Linked DNA regions of Homo sapiens: regions 1, 3 and 4 are each linked to region 2. The links are contacts of gene promoters, found by promoter capture Hi-C in blood cells and fetal thymus (Javierre and others, 2016). All regions are on one chromosome and are shown on one strand. Each heading gives the region's core, a stretch centred on a gene start or on the middle of the fragment in contact. The rest is flanking DNA. Distances are from core to core; before and after follow the strand shown.

What was found. The method cuts DNA at HindIII sites, captures the fragments that hold promoters and counts their contacts. A CHiCAGO score of 5 or more calls a contact.
Region 1: a fragment that was not itself captured here is called in contact with the fragment with the promoter of ATRX in region 2 in 1 of 17 cell types (monocytes); the score reaches 5.2 in monocytes.
Region 3: a fragment that was not itself captured here is called in contact with the fragment with the promoter of ATRX in region 2 in 3 of 17 cell types (total B cells, neutrophils and naive CD8 T cells); the score reaches 7.7 in total B cells.
Region 4: a contact is called between a fragment that was not itself captured here and the fragment with the promoter of ATRX in region 2, in 6 of 17 cell types (naive CD8 T cells, naive CD4 T cells, total B cells and 3 more). The highest score is 6.5, in naive CD8 T cells.

Annotation. Positions count from the first base shown.
Region 1 is chrX:77,545,261-77,549,281 of GRCh38, reverse strand. The region is part of intron 30 of ATRX (ATRX chromatin remodeler); the gene reads left to right. Among named protein-coding and RNA genes, the nearest start is that of FGF16, 100 kb to the right of the region's middle. The HindIII fragment of the contact is 774 bases long and covers 1,420-2,193 here.
Region 2 is chrX:77,783,246-77,787,704 of GRCh38, reverse strand. ATRX (ATRX chromatin remodeler) reads left to right here and starts at 1,489. Exons shown (of 35, transcript NM_000489.6): 1 at 1,489-1,723. The coding sequence starts at 1,704. RefSeq lists enhancers at 1,416-1,605, 1,616-1,725 and a silencer at 1,826-1,875. The HindIII fragment of the contact is 7,766 bases long and covers 677-4,459 here.
Region 3 is chrX:78,009,517-78,012,997 of GRCh38, reverse strand. It overlaps ATP7A (ATPase copper transporting alpha), which reads right to left. Exons shown (of 23, transcript NM_000052.7): 8 at 1,746-1,822; 9 at 1,324-1,549; 10 at 1-119. Among named protein-coding and RNA genes, the nearest start is that of PGAM4, 42 kb to the right of the region's middle. The HindIII fragment of the contact is 1,116 bases long and covers 693-1,808 here.
Region 4 is chrX:78,026,995-78,031,215 of GRCh38, reverse strand. ATP7A (ATPase copper transporting alpha) reads right to left here. Exons shown (of 23, transcript NM_000052.7): 15 at 1,772-1,966. Among named protein-coding and RNA genes, the nearest start is that of PGAM4, 59 kb to the right of the region's middle. The HindIII fragment of the contact is 7,213 bases long and covers 1-4,221 here.

The DNA.
Region 1 (4,021 bases), core at 557-3,056, 240 kb after region 2:
ACCTGAGTAGCTGGGATTACAGGCATGCGCCACCACGCCTGGCTAATTTTTGTATTTTTCATAGAGATGGGCTTTCTCCATGTTGGCCAGGCTGGTCTCGAACTCCTGGCCTCAAGTGATCGACCCACCTCGGTCTCCTAAAGTGCTGGGATTACAGGCATGAGTCACCACCTGCAGCCAAGGTTATATTTTATAATATGCTTAAGTGGGTGTTTTGTTCCTCTTAAGTACAGTATACACAGCCTACTCTGTACCTTTTATTAAGAAAACAAAAGCCAATAAAACTGGCATAGAAATGTTTTTATACTTCCCTTTTCCAGCACTGGACTACGTATGTCTTTTTAAATGTGAACTACTTGATGATTACAGGGAGAACAAAATGGGGATTTAAATTAAAGTATCTTAAGTGAGGCTTTAGGTTTGTTTTCTCTACGCTGAATTTGTGTGCAGTGTTCTCCCCTTTCTTTAGTCCTGTATTCAAACTTTAATACTTCAAAGCATAATTTACTGAACAGAGATGTTATTGTACAGTTTTATTAGCCGGCAGATGGTAATATAAGGTTTCACCTTAGTCATTCTTAATACCAGTGTGAAATACATTCCATTAAAATAATTTGATGTAAAGTATGAAATAGCTAATCCACTTATTTCAGGAACTTTCTGGTAACCTGCCTACATTTACTTTTGAGAATAAAGGTTCAAAATAACACATTTAATTGTAGAGCAAGTGTTAGTAGCCTATGGGGTATGAACCACATGGTGGTATGTGAACCTAATATTTGTTGTCATATTCTTCTAGGAAGCCATGCTCATAATTGAAGCATATATAAGGTTTGATGTCATTGTCTCCTACTTCTTTGCCTTTTTTTTAATCACAGGTTTTGGATTTTTTTGTTTAATAAAACAAGTTTGAATATTATTCCTATCTTTGTATTTACTAGTATAAAATGATTGTTATTCATCTGTATATGAATAGACCACCAGAAAAAATAACGGGCATCAGAAAAATTGTTTGAATTCTACCATTTCTTTGCAGATTACAAAAGTGTCCTATTCGTTTTTTGTTGGGGTGATTGATGCCAAGTAAAAAGAGCAGCTTGTTTAAGCCCTCTCCTAAATAACTTGCCAACCACCCTTTTCAGATGTAATCTTAGGCAAACCATGTAAGCTTTCTAAGCCTCATTTTTCTGAAGAAAATAAGAATAGTGCCAGTACTTCTCTCACAAAGGAGGTAATTCATGTAAACATACTACCTAGCACATAGTAAGTGTTCAAATGTTAGCTGCTGTTTTTGTTTCCATAATTGTTATTAATATTACCATTATAGTAGGTTCATTTCTCTGAAATACTTATGGACTTACATTTTTGGAATTTCAGAGGAGTCATGTGAGGTCCTGATCCTGAGTAGAAAATTAAGCTTGATATATGACAGACCAGTAGAAAACTAAAAACATTTAGGAGCCAGAGGAGATCATCTCAGCTAAGCTGCAGAAGACATAGGTATTTGAGGCTTGCATTCCCCCAGAGATCAGTTGTAATCAGGAAGGAATATATTAGATATTGATCTTCACTTTCAATAAAGTTAGCATGCAGTTGACAAAGAACATTGAAAGGGGTTTTTTTTCTTAAATAATATAAGCAACTTTAGAATAAAGTCTACCTTATAGCCAGCTGATGCTTCTGTAGTAATTTTCCAAAGTAAAGAGATGCTTCTATTTTCCCTCCACAAACTACACAATAAATACTTGTTAACAGACTGACCATACTTTATTTATAGTGCTGTTTTGTCTTATTTTTTATTGTACCACCTTATGACACAAGAAAAACTATTAAGGAGCCATTTACCAAGTCTTTTAGGGAAAACATTTGGGTTACAGAAACCATGGAGCCAATGATACCCTGAGATGGCAGCCTCCCTAACGCTGGCAAGCTGTCTTATAAATAATTGTCCATGGAAACATCAATGTAGATAAGGCAGCCTTGCTGGCAGTGTTGGGGTGGAGGGCAGAGTTGGGGATGGTATGCAAGATTCTATTGGGGAGAGTTTAGGATAGACTTTAAAAAGTGTCTCCTTATGGAGAGTTGGAAGTACTAGAAATATTTGCTGCTTAAGGTCATAGAAATCCTGAAATTTAAAATACCAGGTTTGCATTTAATAAATGCTCATTTAATAAATGAATTAAATGGTAAGCTTTTTTACTTTATAGGCAAATTAAAATATCTATTCTCTCTAGAATATGAACTTCCTATTAGCCTAGGAAGGCAAGAACTATATTAATGCATCTTCATCACTCTATCCCCAATACCTGGCATAATACATAATATAGCACATAGCAAGTATTCAATAAAAATGTGCTATGTGAACAAATGAATTTTTGTGCTAAAATTGCAAGCTAAATGTTGTGAGGCAATAGTTGACATGCCTTTGAAATAGTGTTTTTCCTTGTGTGTACTTCTTGGAGAATCACCTGGTGGCTTGATTAAAAATGCAGATTCCTAGTCGGACACAGTGGCACACACCTCTAATCTCAGCACTTTGGGAGGCCAAGGTGGGAGGATTGCTTGAATCCAGGAGTTCAGGATCAGCCTGGTCAACGTGGCAAGACTCTGTCTCTACAAAAAATTAGCCAGGCTTGGTGGCATGCACCTGTAGTCTCAGCTGTTTTGGAGACTGAGTTGGGAGGATCCCTTGAACCTAGGAGGTCGAGGCTGCAGTGAGCAAGTTTGTACCACTACACTCCAGCCTGGGTGACAGAGTGAGACCCTGTCTCAAAAAAAAAAAAATGCAGATTCCTGGCTTCATCTAAGACCTACTGAATCAGAATTTCTGGAGGTAGGCCTTGGGAATCTATTTTTGACAAGGTCTACCACTCTTGTGTGTACAAGGTATGTAGTAGTATAATTTGCCTTTACAATAGTTATCAGCTAAACCTTTGAATTAAAAAAACAAACAGTATCTAAGCTTTATTGAGCAATGTTTATGCCAGGAACTGTGCTAAGGATTTTACTAGCATTACCTTATTTAATCCTTACAAAGCAGGTACAATTTTTTCTATTTTCTGATGAAATTATGGCATGGAAAGTGGTGGCACCGGGGCTTGAACTCAGTGCTGTGACTCCAGACTCCACACTCTTTAACCATTACACTATACTATCCTGACATTAATATTCTATATGATTAAGCTTGCGGAGAAGTAAATTGAGGTTTGATATGACTTTACACCGTTTTAATCAATACTGTGGGTTTATGGAAAGGCACAGTGTTATCAAGGTGTATAATATTGGGGAGGGTATGGATTTCATCTAGTTACTACACAATCTTACAGTGTCAGAGCTGATCCTAGTCCTCCTTGATTGTCTTTGGTGCTGAACTTACTGATCCTTAGCCCTAAGTCAGTGTAGCAGAGTGGTTAAGGACAGGGGTCCTGGGGCAAGACCAGGGTTTGAATCTTTATCTTAGTCAAAATATCTGACTTCTATGCCTCAGTTTTTTCATTATACTTCTGAGAAATGTATGTCCATTAGTTCTTCAAAAATATCATCCTTTGCATTTTTATTTTTGTCTCTTTCTGAGACTGTTACTATCTGAATGCCTGCTCTTCTAGCCTCCATATCTTTTAGCTTTTCTTTTGCATTCCTATTTCTTTATTCTTTCTTACTATCTTCTGGAAGAGTATCTCAGTCTTATCTCCTAATTCACTAAGATATTCAACTGTACCCCGCTTGCTGTTTATACTGAGTTATTTTTTCAACTGTTATTTTTTTTTCCTAATATTTCATTTAGACTCTTAAATTTGTTTGAATTCCATATTGGTAATATCTTCCTTTATTTCATCTGTTTCAGTAACTATGTTTTAGATAAAATATGATGCCAGTTGTTACCCCAGGGATGTCTGTGTGTGTGTACATGCACATATGCACACATTGTCTATAAGTTTCTGGAATTCATATTGCCTTTTCCCTTCTATAGTTTCTGCAGAGTTGGTTTTGAGGGCAGGAGCTAGCAGCTCATGCTGGTTTG
Region 2 (4,459 bases), core at 240-2,739:
TAATTGCCAACTGAACTCAAACATTTGAAAGATATAATTGCAATGTGTACAGGCGTCTGTTGATTAAAAAGTTGCCTGAGGCCAGGCGCGGTGGCTCACCCCTGTAACTCCAGCACTTTGGGAGGTCGAGGTTGGAGGATGGCTTGAGCTTAGATGTTTGAGACCAGCCTGGGCAACAGACAGACCTACCTCATCTATACCAATACATAAATACATAATTAGCTGGGCTTGATGGCACGCGCCTGCAGTCCCAGCTGCTTGAGAGGCTGAGGTGGGAGGATTGCTTGAGCCTAGGAGGTCGAGGCTGCAGTGAACTGCGTCACGCCACTGCACTCCAGCCTGGGTGACAGAGCTAGACCCTGTCTCAGAAAAAAAAAAAAAAAAAGTTGCCTGAGCCTATCAGATTTTCAAAGTGTTTCATTCAAAAAAGGCTCCCCTCTTGCTATCCCAGTAGAAAGCAGCAACCCTGTCACCTAACCCCGACAGGAGCTCTTGCATATTTCAAGAAAAATAAATAGAATGAACTAAAGCATGCATGGCAGAATAAATTTGGAAATAAATTTCGAAGCGATTAGATTTTAGAGGACTTGTTTGTGATTAGCAGAGATTACCAATGTAAAATCAAATTATAGATCATAAAAGCGGGAAAGGCATTTACAGATCATCCAGCCAAGCTTCCTCTGTAATGAGAAGGAAGCAGATCTAAATTGATTGGTTTGTGAGCTAAACATCACATCAAATTGGGGAAATGGCCCGTGTGTGTGTGTGTGTGTGTGTGTGTGTGTGTGTGTGTGTGTGTATTCTAAGAGACACTTTATTCAATATGGAAAGAATTTTATGCAGCGTTCAAGTTGGTCTTATGTCGTCTGCACACATATACATATATATAAGTATATTATACACATATACATTTCCAAGCATGTTGGTGTGCCAAATATTATGTATAAAACATCTAGGAAAGCAAATAACTTGATGATAGCCTAGCATATAGGAAAGAAAATACTTACATAGGATGGCCATACAGATTAGTGGTTAAGAGTGTCTGGTGAATCTCGGCTCCACTACTGTGGGACTTTGTGTCTTGGTTTCCTCATCTGGAAAATGTAGGTTTGTCTACCTCAGAGAGTGTAAAGATTAAATGAGATAACCCGGATAAAGGATTAGTGTAGTGCCGAGCATATAGTAAACTCTCAATAAATGTAGGTTGCTGTTATTACTTCGTTAATATGTCAAAGAAAAAAGAGGTTGGACCAAAAGAGCATTTTCAAAATAAAGTCAAACTATGTCACTAGCACTTTCAGGTCAATTGGGACTAAATTGGACCCCCTGCGAAAAGGTGGAGGGGATCAAATGACGTCGACCGCCTTAGCAACAGGCCCCCAAAGAAGGTGAATTTCCGTAGCCAATAAGACTCTGTGCTTTGGAGGAGGTAGCCAATGGCTGACGGAAAGAGAAAGAGGGAGGACGCGCCAATTCTCCTGCCTGAGCCTCGGCCCAACAAAATGGCGGCGGCAGCGGTGTCGCTTTGTTTCCGCGGCTCCTGCGGCGGTGGCAGTGGTAGCGGCCTTTGAGCTGTGGGGAGGTTCCAGCAGCAGCTACAGTGACGACTAAGACTCCAGTGCATTTCTATCGTAACCGGGCGCGGGGGAGCGCAGATCGGCGCCCAGCAATCACAGAAGCCGACAAGGCGTTCAAGCGAAAACATGACCGCTGAGCCCATGAGGTAAAACGCAACCCCGTCTCATGGGCCCCAGCGGTCTGGGCCCAGGCACCGTCTGAGTCGGGTGTTTGGGAAGGCGTTCGCTTGGTGGGTTAGGCCTGTGTGTTGCTTAGCCGAAAGAGGCATCGTTTTCTCTTTAGGTGAGAAGGGTTTCGGGGTATCGGCGCAAGGCTCCGACGGGGGTGGGGGTGGGGATGGGGTGGGGGGAGGTGGGGGGGGCGCGGCCTAGGGTATGGGGCGCTTCTTGCAATCTCCCCTAAACGGTGACGCTTGGTCGGGCTCCTCTGTTTATTCTTTGGTGCCTGTGGGATTGAGACCTCGAAGTCGGAGGCGGTCTTTGGTATCCCGGTCATTTTTGCTAATCTTTGGGCCTAGAAACTGCGTGGGGAAGAAGCGGGGGGAGGGTGAGAAGAGGGGGAGGGGTGGGCGGGCGCGAGGATGTGAGATCCCAGGACGACTTAGAGGCGTTTAGGTTGCTGGAGATGGGAAGCACCCGGGCCCTGCGGGATTTTTTTTCTGCAGCCCCAGGAGACAAGCCTTTTTTTGATTGGGTTGTGGTGCAGTTCCAGGTATTTAGGTATCTTTTCTACTCCATATCCTGAAGGATATCCTTGGGTTTATTTCTAGGCGAGGGGGGACTTAACACAGGGTTTTGCTTCCAGAGGACCCTAGTATACTACTTTTTGTGATGTCCAGCCTTAATGGGACCTCAAGTGTTTCCCCACTTTCTGGGCAAATTTCGAGGAGTAATTAGGCCCTATCTTTATTTACTTATTTATTCCATGAAGGATGAAGGGCAGGTTAACGTGGGCTGATGCGAAGTAAGATTTATTGCAAGGGAAAATGCCTGGCAGGCCTCCTCTTAACCAATCAAGCACGTTTATTAGGTTGAAGCTGTTTTTCTGTGTGCTTCTGATTTGCCTCTTGACGGGTCTGAAAATTTGGGTAGTCAATATGAAATGTATACACTTTTACCCAGGTGGCTGGCTGGCGTTTCAGTTTGACATTTGAATTTTCATCCCACAATGTGAATTAAGTAATTTTTTTACTCGGAGATGCATCCTTGGCGTCCAGTGGCAAAATAAAATTACAAGGAGCATGGGTCAGAATTGCATTTCAAGTTGGCGAAATGTGCCTTTGAGTAACTCTTAGATTGGCATATGTTTTTAGAGCAATTTAGCTAGAATGTAGAATTGGGCAATGAGCCTATGATACGTATGTCTGTATTTCTGCATGAACAAGCAGTAGATTATATTTTCTTTACCTTGGGGAAAGATATGCTTCAGTTCTTAGATTGTAGATCTCTAGTTGTGTACACGATTGTGGCCTTGGTTTCTGAATTTGTCAGTAGGCTCAAATACAACAAATCTTTATCTGTGGGGTATTAGGCACGTAAGTGGTACCCAGTATAACTTGTTGGCCTGTAATTACCAGGCACTCATGTTCATATGCATGGATGGTGTACCTTACAGTTAAATTATGACCTCTAGATTTTACTAAGTTTCACAAAGTCTACATTTGAAACTATAGTTTGAAGTCGGATCTTCTCAGTTTCTTTAGAATGAACAAATTACGTATATAGAATTTCTGAATAGAATAATTAATTTTACACAAGGGTCAGTTTTTCTTACTAGTCTTGGATTTTTGTAGATCTTGATGATAAGAGTAATAATCATAACTAAGTTGAGTGCTTATTGTCGTTCTTTATAATCTTGATGAATTCTCAAACCTGTGAGGTAAGTACTTGGTTTTGCCCATTTTACCGATGAGGAGGAAAGTGAGACATAGATCAAGAACTTGACCGAAGTTATACAGCTTGTAATTGGTGGAGCTGGAATTGAACCCCATCTTGACTTCACAGCTTATGTTCTTAACCACAAGGCATTAATGCCCCCTTCAGCTGCCAGGTCTAACCTGATTATGACCATTTAAATTTAGCCCAAGTGTTACAATGAAAGAAGTTCATATTACCTACTCTGATTTGTTGCAGGTCTATGATTTTGTAGCTGTTTATAATGTTACATTTTTTGTGTCCAGGTGTACTATGTAGTGAGATAACTGAAATATTTAATGCTAGGAGAGTCTTAAGCTACATGAAAAACCTCTAGTAAAGAACTGCATATATGCATGTAGGGAATTAATTAAAAAGTGTGACACTCCCTGATGATTTACTATGAAAGAGCTCCAAGTAGGTGTTCAGAACTGTCTCAGGCTGAAGTGTCATCGATCTCCTAAACCATAATCATGGTTAAAGGAGAATCTGACAGGTAATGCTTGAGTTGAACCCACAGTACCAAATCCCTCTTGAGTCTTTTCTAATGTGAGGCAGAAATAATATAAGCATTATTGTTAATATTATTTTACACAGTAGTTCCAGATTTTCTCTTTATCAAATATTTTGTCAAGCACTTAAAAAGCAGGAACAAAGACTAGTTCTAATTTTTACTTGTGTTTATAAAAAAAAGTAATATTCTAGGATTCTGTGGTGGAAAAATGGCCAGAAGACAAGAGGAAGGAAAATAAACCGATGACCTGGCTAAAACATACACTGACTAATCAGTGGCTCAGTCTTTAAAGGTTTTGTTGTTTTTAAAGGATTTTTTTGGTTGTTTGTGTTGTTTGAAATAAGATTGACTTGCTTCTGGCATTATAAAAGATAAGGTCTTTTATAATCACCAAGCTCTCAATGTAGTACTTGGGTACCTGGGTGTCACTGCTGATTATTTTTTAATTTTTAAA
Region 3 (3,481 bases), core at 1-2,500, 230 kb before region 2:
ATAATCAAAGAGTAGGCAAATGCAATGGTGGTTGCCAGCACAATCAGTACGTCCATATTTGCTGTCTTATGCTTCAGTGCTTTATAAGCCTGAATGTAGAAGTACCAGCCTCCGAAAAACTGCAATATAGGAATGATAATCATTGAATTTTAAAAAATGCTGAAATTCACATATATATCTCAATAACTTAAAGTATCAATAGTCACTTTCTTTGGCTTTTAGCTAATCCATAAACACTAAAGGGAGATTAAGCCAAAACAATCGTGTTTGTATTTCAATAGATGTACATGCAGAGGGAGGTATTCAAATTGCTGCACAAGCCTGTGGGGCTATCATCTATGATCCAATGGATATTCCATAATACAAGGAAAATCAGATATTTCTTCCTTTTTTTTTTTTTTTTTTTTAAGAGACAGTCTTGATATGTTGCCCAGGCTGGTCTCAAACTCCTGGCCTCAAGCAATCCTCCTGCCTCAGCCTCCCAAGTAGCTGGGATTATAGGCATGAGCCATCACACCAAGCAGATTTTTCTTTCTGAGGCTAGCAAAAACAAGAACTAAGAAAGGAATTACATTTTCTCAAGGATTTTTTTGTATAAAACTCACCCATCTTTCCAAAACTCAAACTAACTGGTATATCACAAGCTACGAAATCTGTTGGCCGTTTTTGTTGGTAAATATAACTGGAAAGCTTATTTCATTAAAACAGAGAAACTAAGATGTTTTTTAAAATCATTATTGCCTTTTATAAGGATCAGATAAAGGAAAAGATTTATTTGATAGAAGTATTCTATTCCAAAGTAAAAGTTTATCTCGAAAAAAGAGTTTAAAACATACAGAAAGTAATGAACTGAAGTGCCAGGAAGAAATAACAAAAATAAAGTCATTGAGCTGGGTGCAGTGGCTAGTGCCTGGAAGTCCCAGCTACTCAGAATGCTGAGGCAGAAGGAATGCTTGAGCCCAGGAGTTCAAGACCACAGTGAGCTGTGCTTACACCACTGCATTCCAGCCTGGGTGACAGAGCAAAACCCCATCTCTAAAAAAAAAAAAATAGATAAATAAAAATTTAAAAATAAAATAAAGTTATATACAGTAGCAGATATAAATACCAAACCCAAAAAACTTGAACTCTTTCTTAGGGGTTAAATGGCATCTATTATCAACTTAAATAACTACCCAGTTGAAGATTATTTTTGTAAAGCATATGGCATAAAATGATCAGACTTCTAGCTAACATCAGTTTTGTAGCTGAAAATAAACCTTGCCTGCCAAATTTTGCTTATTTTTTATTATTAACAAATATATTTGCTAACAATTCACTTGCCTGTACAGGTACACACAATAAAAAGGACAGCAAATTCATAACAGACAATCCTGGAAGAATCTGGCGCTCCAGGAACATAGAAGAATGAAGGTTGATCATTTCTTCTTTACTCATGTTTTGATTATGGTGAAGAGTTGCAAAGTGGTGGTCCATAACCATCATATATATCATCAGCCCCATTACAGGAATACAGAAAAACAGACTCACAAGAAAAGACCGTCTCCATCTTATATGGAAAAAATAAAAAAAGAAAAATCATGGTCATAAATAGCTAATGGGTAAAGATTCTACATACTACAGAGAGATATACATTGTGACCATTTCATCCAGTATAAGGATGATATTATAAAAACTGACATGCAAAAAAAAATTTGTAATAAGGAGTCAAAATCTGTTTTTTACTGACACTCCAAAGTACTTACTGTCTTATTTCTCGTTTATGATCTAAGTGACTTGCTGACCGATCCTTCTTGACCAAAGAAGCTTCAAAACCTAAGCTCTAAGGAAATTCATGAGAAAAAAATTATTTCACTGAACATATAAATATTGTATAGAGAAATTCTAAGCCATGGTATTGTCATTAAGAACAGTTCAATTACTGAGGGCAAGTCACTCTGGGGAATACAAAGATGAAGATGTGCTTCCTGCTCTTGATTGCATTTGTTTCCAATCTTTCATCAAACAAATAAATATTTCCTTAATGCTAGTTAATATGTATCCTATATATAAGAGTTTAACTCAAGTACAACTGTCCTCAGTAGAGGTTCTCATTAATAGGCCATAAAAGCTAGCACCAGGCCGGGCACGGTGGCTCATGCCTGTAATCCCAGCACTTTGGGAGGCCAAGGTGGGCAAATCACAAAGTCAGGAGTTCGAGAGCAGTATGGCCAACACGGTGAAACCCCGTCTCTACTAAAAATACAAAAAATTAGCTGGAAATAGTGGCAGGTGCCTGTAATCCCAGCTGCTCGGGAAGCTGAGACAGGAGAATCGCTTGAACCCAGGAGGCGGAGGTTGCAGTGAGCTGAGATCGCACCACTGCACTCCAGCCCAGGCGACAGAGTGAGACTCTGTCTCCAAAAAAAAAAAAAAAAAAAAAAAAAAGCTAGCACCATACTAAACATATTATTCAAGGCCTTGCATATGCAGTATTTAGTCTTGTTTTATCAGAAAAAGAACATGAACAAAAATCATTTTCCCCAATAAAACAAAGTATAAAAAGGAAACTACCCCTAAGCAAGACTTATCTGACCATAGATAGTAATACACATTACATTTCCAACTGCTAGGGGAAATGCTGCCATCTTACATTTGTTGGCAGTGCACAGTGAATAGAACAAGCATGAGCTTTTGGAGTCAGAGTAATTAGGCTCAAATCCCAGTTATGACAGTTATTAGCTATGTGACTTTGGATAAGTAACTTAACTTCTCTTAACCTGGGTTTCCTCACCTCCAAAATGAATATGACCACATTGCTGTGGGAATTAAGGGTTGAAGCTTTGCAATCTTGGTAACTGGCACATAGCAGGTACTCAGTAAAACTAGTTTCACAAAAATGGTAATGATAATGTCATCTATACAAATAGGATCTTAACTGAACTAATAAAATGCTTTAAATCACTTGAACACCAATTCTATAGCATACTGAAACTTTTAAAATACATTCACATGTATTACCACTTAAGACTTATTGAAGAACACAGGATGAATCTGTCACAAAGAAAGGATTGTGTTTGTTTGTTTGTTTGTTTTAGAGACAAGGTCTCTCTCACAGTAACCTTCAACTCCTGGACTTAAGCAATCCTCCTACCTCTGCTTCTCGTGTGATTAATACTATGGGTGCGTGGCACCACACCTGGCTAGTTATTTTAATTTTTGTTGCAGAGACAGGGTCTCGCTACATTGCCCAGGATGGTCTTGAACTCCTGGCCTCAAGTGATTGTGCCCTCTAGGCCTCTCAAAATGCTGAGATTATAGGCATGAGCCACTATGTCCAGCTGGGTTTAGTCTTTTAAATTTCTTACTTTAACTTAAAAATAGGTCTTTTGTTTTGACCTAACAAACAAAAAGCCATCAAGCAGGATCCTTCACTTTCTTAGTAACTAATATGAATCTTATTTATAACAAATTATACTTTATTTCCATTTTCTAAATATTT
Region 4 (4,221 bases), core at 521-3,020, 240 kb before region 2:
CACAACAGCTCTCCTCTGCCAATGCTGAACTGTTTGTTCATGCTAAATAACTGTGAATATATGTTAAACAACTAGAGCTAATTTTTAAGGGTTGACTGTTAATAGGTAATTAAGAGACGCCTCTAGTGCCTCAAGGTAAAAAAGAAAGGCTTTCAATATAATGAATTATAGATCTGATGAGGAAATCTAAGCAGTAGGGAAATGATTATAAGAATAAAGGTAAATGGCCAGGTGCGGTGGCTCAAGCCTATAATCCCAGCACTTTCAGAGACTGAGGTGTATGGATCACCTGAGGTCAGGAGATCGAGACCAGCCTGGCCAACATGGTGAAACCCCGTCTCTACTAATAATAAAAAGTTAGCTGGGCATGGTGGTGCATGCCTGTAATCCCAGCTACTCGGGAGGCTGAGGCAGGAGAATCGCTGGAACTTGGTGGGTGGAGGTTGCAGTGAGCCGAGATCGCACCACTGCACTCCAGCCTGGGCCATAGAGCGAGACTTCATCTCAAAAAAAAAAAAAAAGAAAGAAAGAAAGAAAAGAAAAATAAACCAACAAAGTATGATTCTGGACAGGGGAAAAATAGCTATAAAGCACATTATTGAGACAACTGAGGAAACTGGAACATGGACTACAGATCAGATAACAACATATCAATATTAATTTATTGATTTTGATAGTTGTACTACAGTTTACATAAGAGAATGTCCTTATTCTTAGGAAAAGAGCCCAACGACTGCAGTAAAGGGCATATAGGAGTTCTTTGTACTAGTCTTGCAACATTTTTTTTTTTTTTTGAGATGGAGTCTTGCTCAGTCGCCCAAGCTGGAGTGCAGTGGCGCGATCCCAGCTCACTGCAACCCCTGCCCTCCGGGCTCAAGCGATTCTCCTGCCTCAGTCTCCTGAGTAGTTGGGATTACAGGTGTGCCAACTCGCCCAGCTAATTTTTGTATTTTTAGTAGAGACGGGGTTTCACCATGTTGGTCAGGCTGGTCTCAAACTCCTGACCTCGTGGTCCGCCTGCCTCAGCCTCCCAAAGTGCTGGGATTACAGGCGTGAGCCACTGTGCCAGGCTAGTCTTGCGACTTTTAAGTTTGAAATTATATCAAAGTTTAAAATGTCTATAAAAATTACTAGCCTGTATTCTCTGGCGAGGTGAGTTTCCAGATTTGTTCTAAGATATGTTCTATGTTTACTATATACCTCTGTACATAGCTTACATCCTCATAATAAGAACATACTAGTAGAAACATGGTTTTAGTTGAAGTCAAGTAGCTTTGAGATGATTATGGAAATCCTAATATGAGATCAGAGATAGGATTATATTCCTAAAGTCATAGCTGCAAACTGTCGGCTGGTGGCAGCAAAGGCAAAGAAACGGCACTGCAATTGAAGGTCCCAGTGAAGAAAACAAGTCACACACAAATAGGTTAGAAGGCTGCTGGAGTTTGGCAAATTTTCCTGGGCAAACACCTATTCTGTCTTTCTGCCACAAAGACTAGTCTAGTCTGAGCTAGGATAGGAGTCCAGGTTTTCCACATTAGGGTCTGCTCTAATAAATAGGCCTGGAGTAGTTTTAGGAATCTTAGGTAACAAAGGCCAATCTGAAGCAGAACCAAAATAACACCTTTCCTACCTCAAATCTCTGGATAGTCCTAGAAGCAGCTCAGCTCATGGACCACAGAGAAATAATTTAGGAGTATGTGTTTCTCACATGTGAGGGGTGCTATTGATAGTTTGGTGGTACAGGTTTTAGTTCTGGGGACTGTCTTACCTTATGAGCCATCTCCAATGGCTCTCCACCTTTTATTAGTATGCCATTTTGAGCACCTACTCCTGTACCCACCATCACAGCAGTTGGAGTGGCCAGTCCCAGTGAACAGGGACATGCAATACACAGAACTGTGATAGAGGCTTGGAAAGCAAATCGTATTATCGTTTCTGTTCGGGAGATACTTCTATTGTAGCCCTTTAGAAGAAAGGCATAAATTTTGGTTATTGATTTAGAGCTGTACAAAACAAAAGACACAAAACTTAACACTATTTAAATAAAACCACAATTTAAAAAGTGACATATCCTACCTAGCTACCTACATATATTTTTTAGTTACAGGTAAGAAAACACTTTCTTTCTTTTATGAATATAAGAAATTGGGACATACTGAGATTCCAGAATTACAAACTATGGACTGAATATAAGTGCTCCATATTGAGAATGAATGTTTTTATTAGAAATTTTCAGAAATAGCTGCAAATGTGAGACATAATTTTCAAAAAATTTGATACTGAATAAACAGAATTCTCAATCTCTGTAGAGTAAAACCATAATTCTGCCTTTCACACTATTCTTGAAAGACAATGAAAAAGAATCACATGGCATGCAAAGGGACCTTAGTCATATTTCAACAAAATCCTTTTGGACATAACAATGTGAACCAAGTATATCTGCTAATTAAGCTCTTAGTGACGTTCAGTGTTTGCTCATGTGGGAAAAATATAATTGGTAGTTTTAGAAGAAATCTAAGACATCCTGAACTCATGAGAAAAATTCCTGAAGGAAACACATTCCAAGCTACTTGCTGGTCTGTGCACGGGCTCACATCTGTAATCCCAGTACTTTTGGAGGCTAAGGCAGGAGGATCATTTGAGGCCAGGAGTTTGAGACCACCCTGGGCAACATGGTAAGACCTCATCTCTACAAAAAAAATTTGTGAAAAATTAGCCAGGTATGGCCGGGCACAGTGGCTCACGCCTGTAATCCCAGCACTTTGGGAGGCCAAGGCAGGTGGATCACCTGAGGTCAGGAGTCCGAGACCTGCCTGGCCAACATGGTGAAACCCCGTCTCTATTAAAAATGCAAAAATTAGCTGGGCATGGTGGCACATGCCTGTAATCCCAGCTACTTGGGAGGCTGAGGCACAAGAATTGCTTGAACCTGGAAGGCAGAGGTTGCAGTGAGCCGAGATCATGCCATTGCACTCCAGCCTGGGTGACAAGAGCGAAACTCGGTCTCAAAAAAAAAAAAAAAATTAGCCAGGGATGGTGGTGCATGCCTGCAGTTGCAGCTACTCGGGAGGCTAAGGTAAGAGAATCGCTTAAGCCCAGAAGTTTGAGGCTGCAGTGAGCCATGATTGCACCACTGCATTCCTGCCTGGGCAACAGAGCGAGACCCTGTCTCAAAAATAAATAAATAAATAAATAAATAAATAAATAAATAAATAAATACCAAAAAAACTTCCCAACAATCCTTTTGTTCAGTGTGTACTAAACAGACATGAATCACTTAAAGAAACTTTTTAATATTACAGTAGTGGGCTGGACACAGTGGCTCATGTCTGTAATCCCATATAATAATATCATATATTGAATAGGGTGTCCTTTCCCCATTGCTTGTTTTGGTCAACTTTGTTGAAGATCAGTTGGTTGTAGGTGTGTGGTTTTATTTCTGGGTTCTCTATTTTGTTCAATTGATCTACATGTCTATTTTTGTATCAATACCATGCTTTTGATTACTATAGCCTTGCAGTATAATTTGAAGTCAGGTAATGTGATGCCTCTAGTTTTATTCTTTTTGCTTAGGATGGCTTTGGCTATTTAGGTTCTTTTTCCATATGAATTTTAGGATTGCTTTTTTAATTCTGTGACAGAGGACATTAGTTTTATAGGAATTGTGTTGAATCTATAGATTGCTTTGGACAGTATGGTAGTTTTAATATTAATGCTTCCAATCCATGGGCATGGAATGTTTTTCCATTTGTTTGTGTCTTCTTCAGTTTCTTTCATCAGTGTTTTATGCTTCTCTCTGTAGAGATCTTTCACCTCCTTGGTTAAATGTATTCCTAGGTATGTTTTGTGTGTGATTATTGTAAATGGGATTGAGTTCTTGATTTAGTTCTCGAGTTGGACGTTGCTGGTGTATAGAAATGCTAATAATTTTTGCATGTTGATTTTATACCCTGAAACTTTACTGAAGTAGTTTATCTGGTCTGGGAGTCTTTTGGAGAAATCTTTATGGTTTTCTAGGTATAGAATCATGTCATCAGGAACAGAGATTTTTTTTTTTTTTTTGAGACGGAGTTTTGTTCTTGTTGCCCAGGCGGCAGTTCAATGGCGTGATCTAGGCTCAGTGAAACCTACACCTCCTGGGTTCGAGCAATTCTCTTCCCTCAGTCTCGCAAGTAGCTGGGATTACAGGTGCGTGCCACCATGCCTGGCTAATTTTTG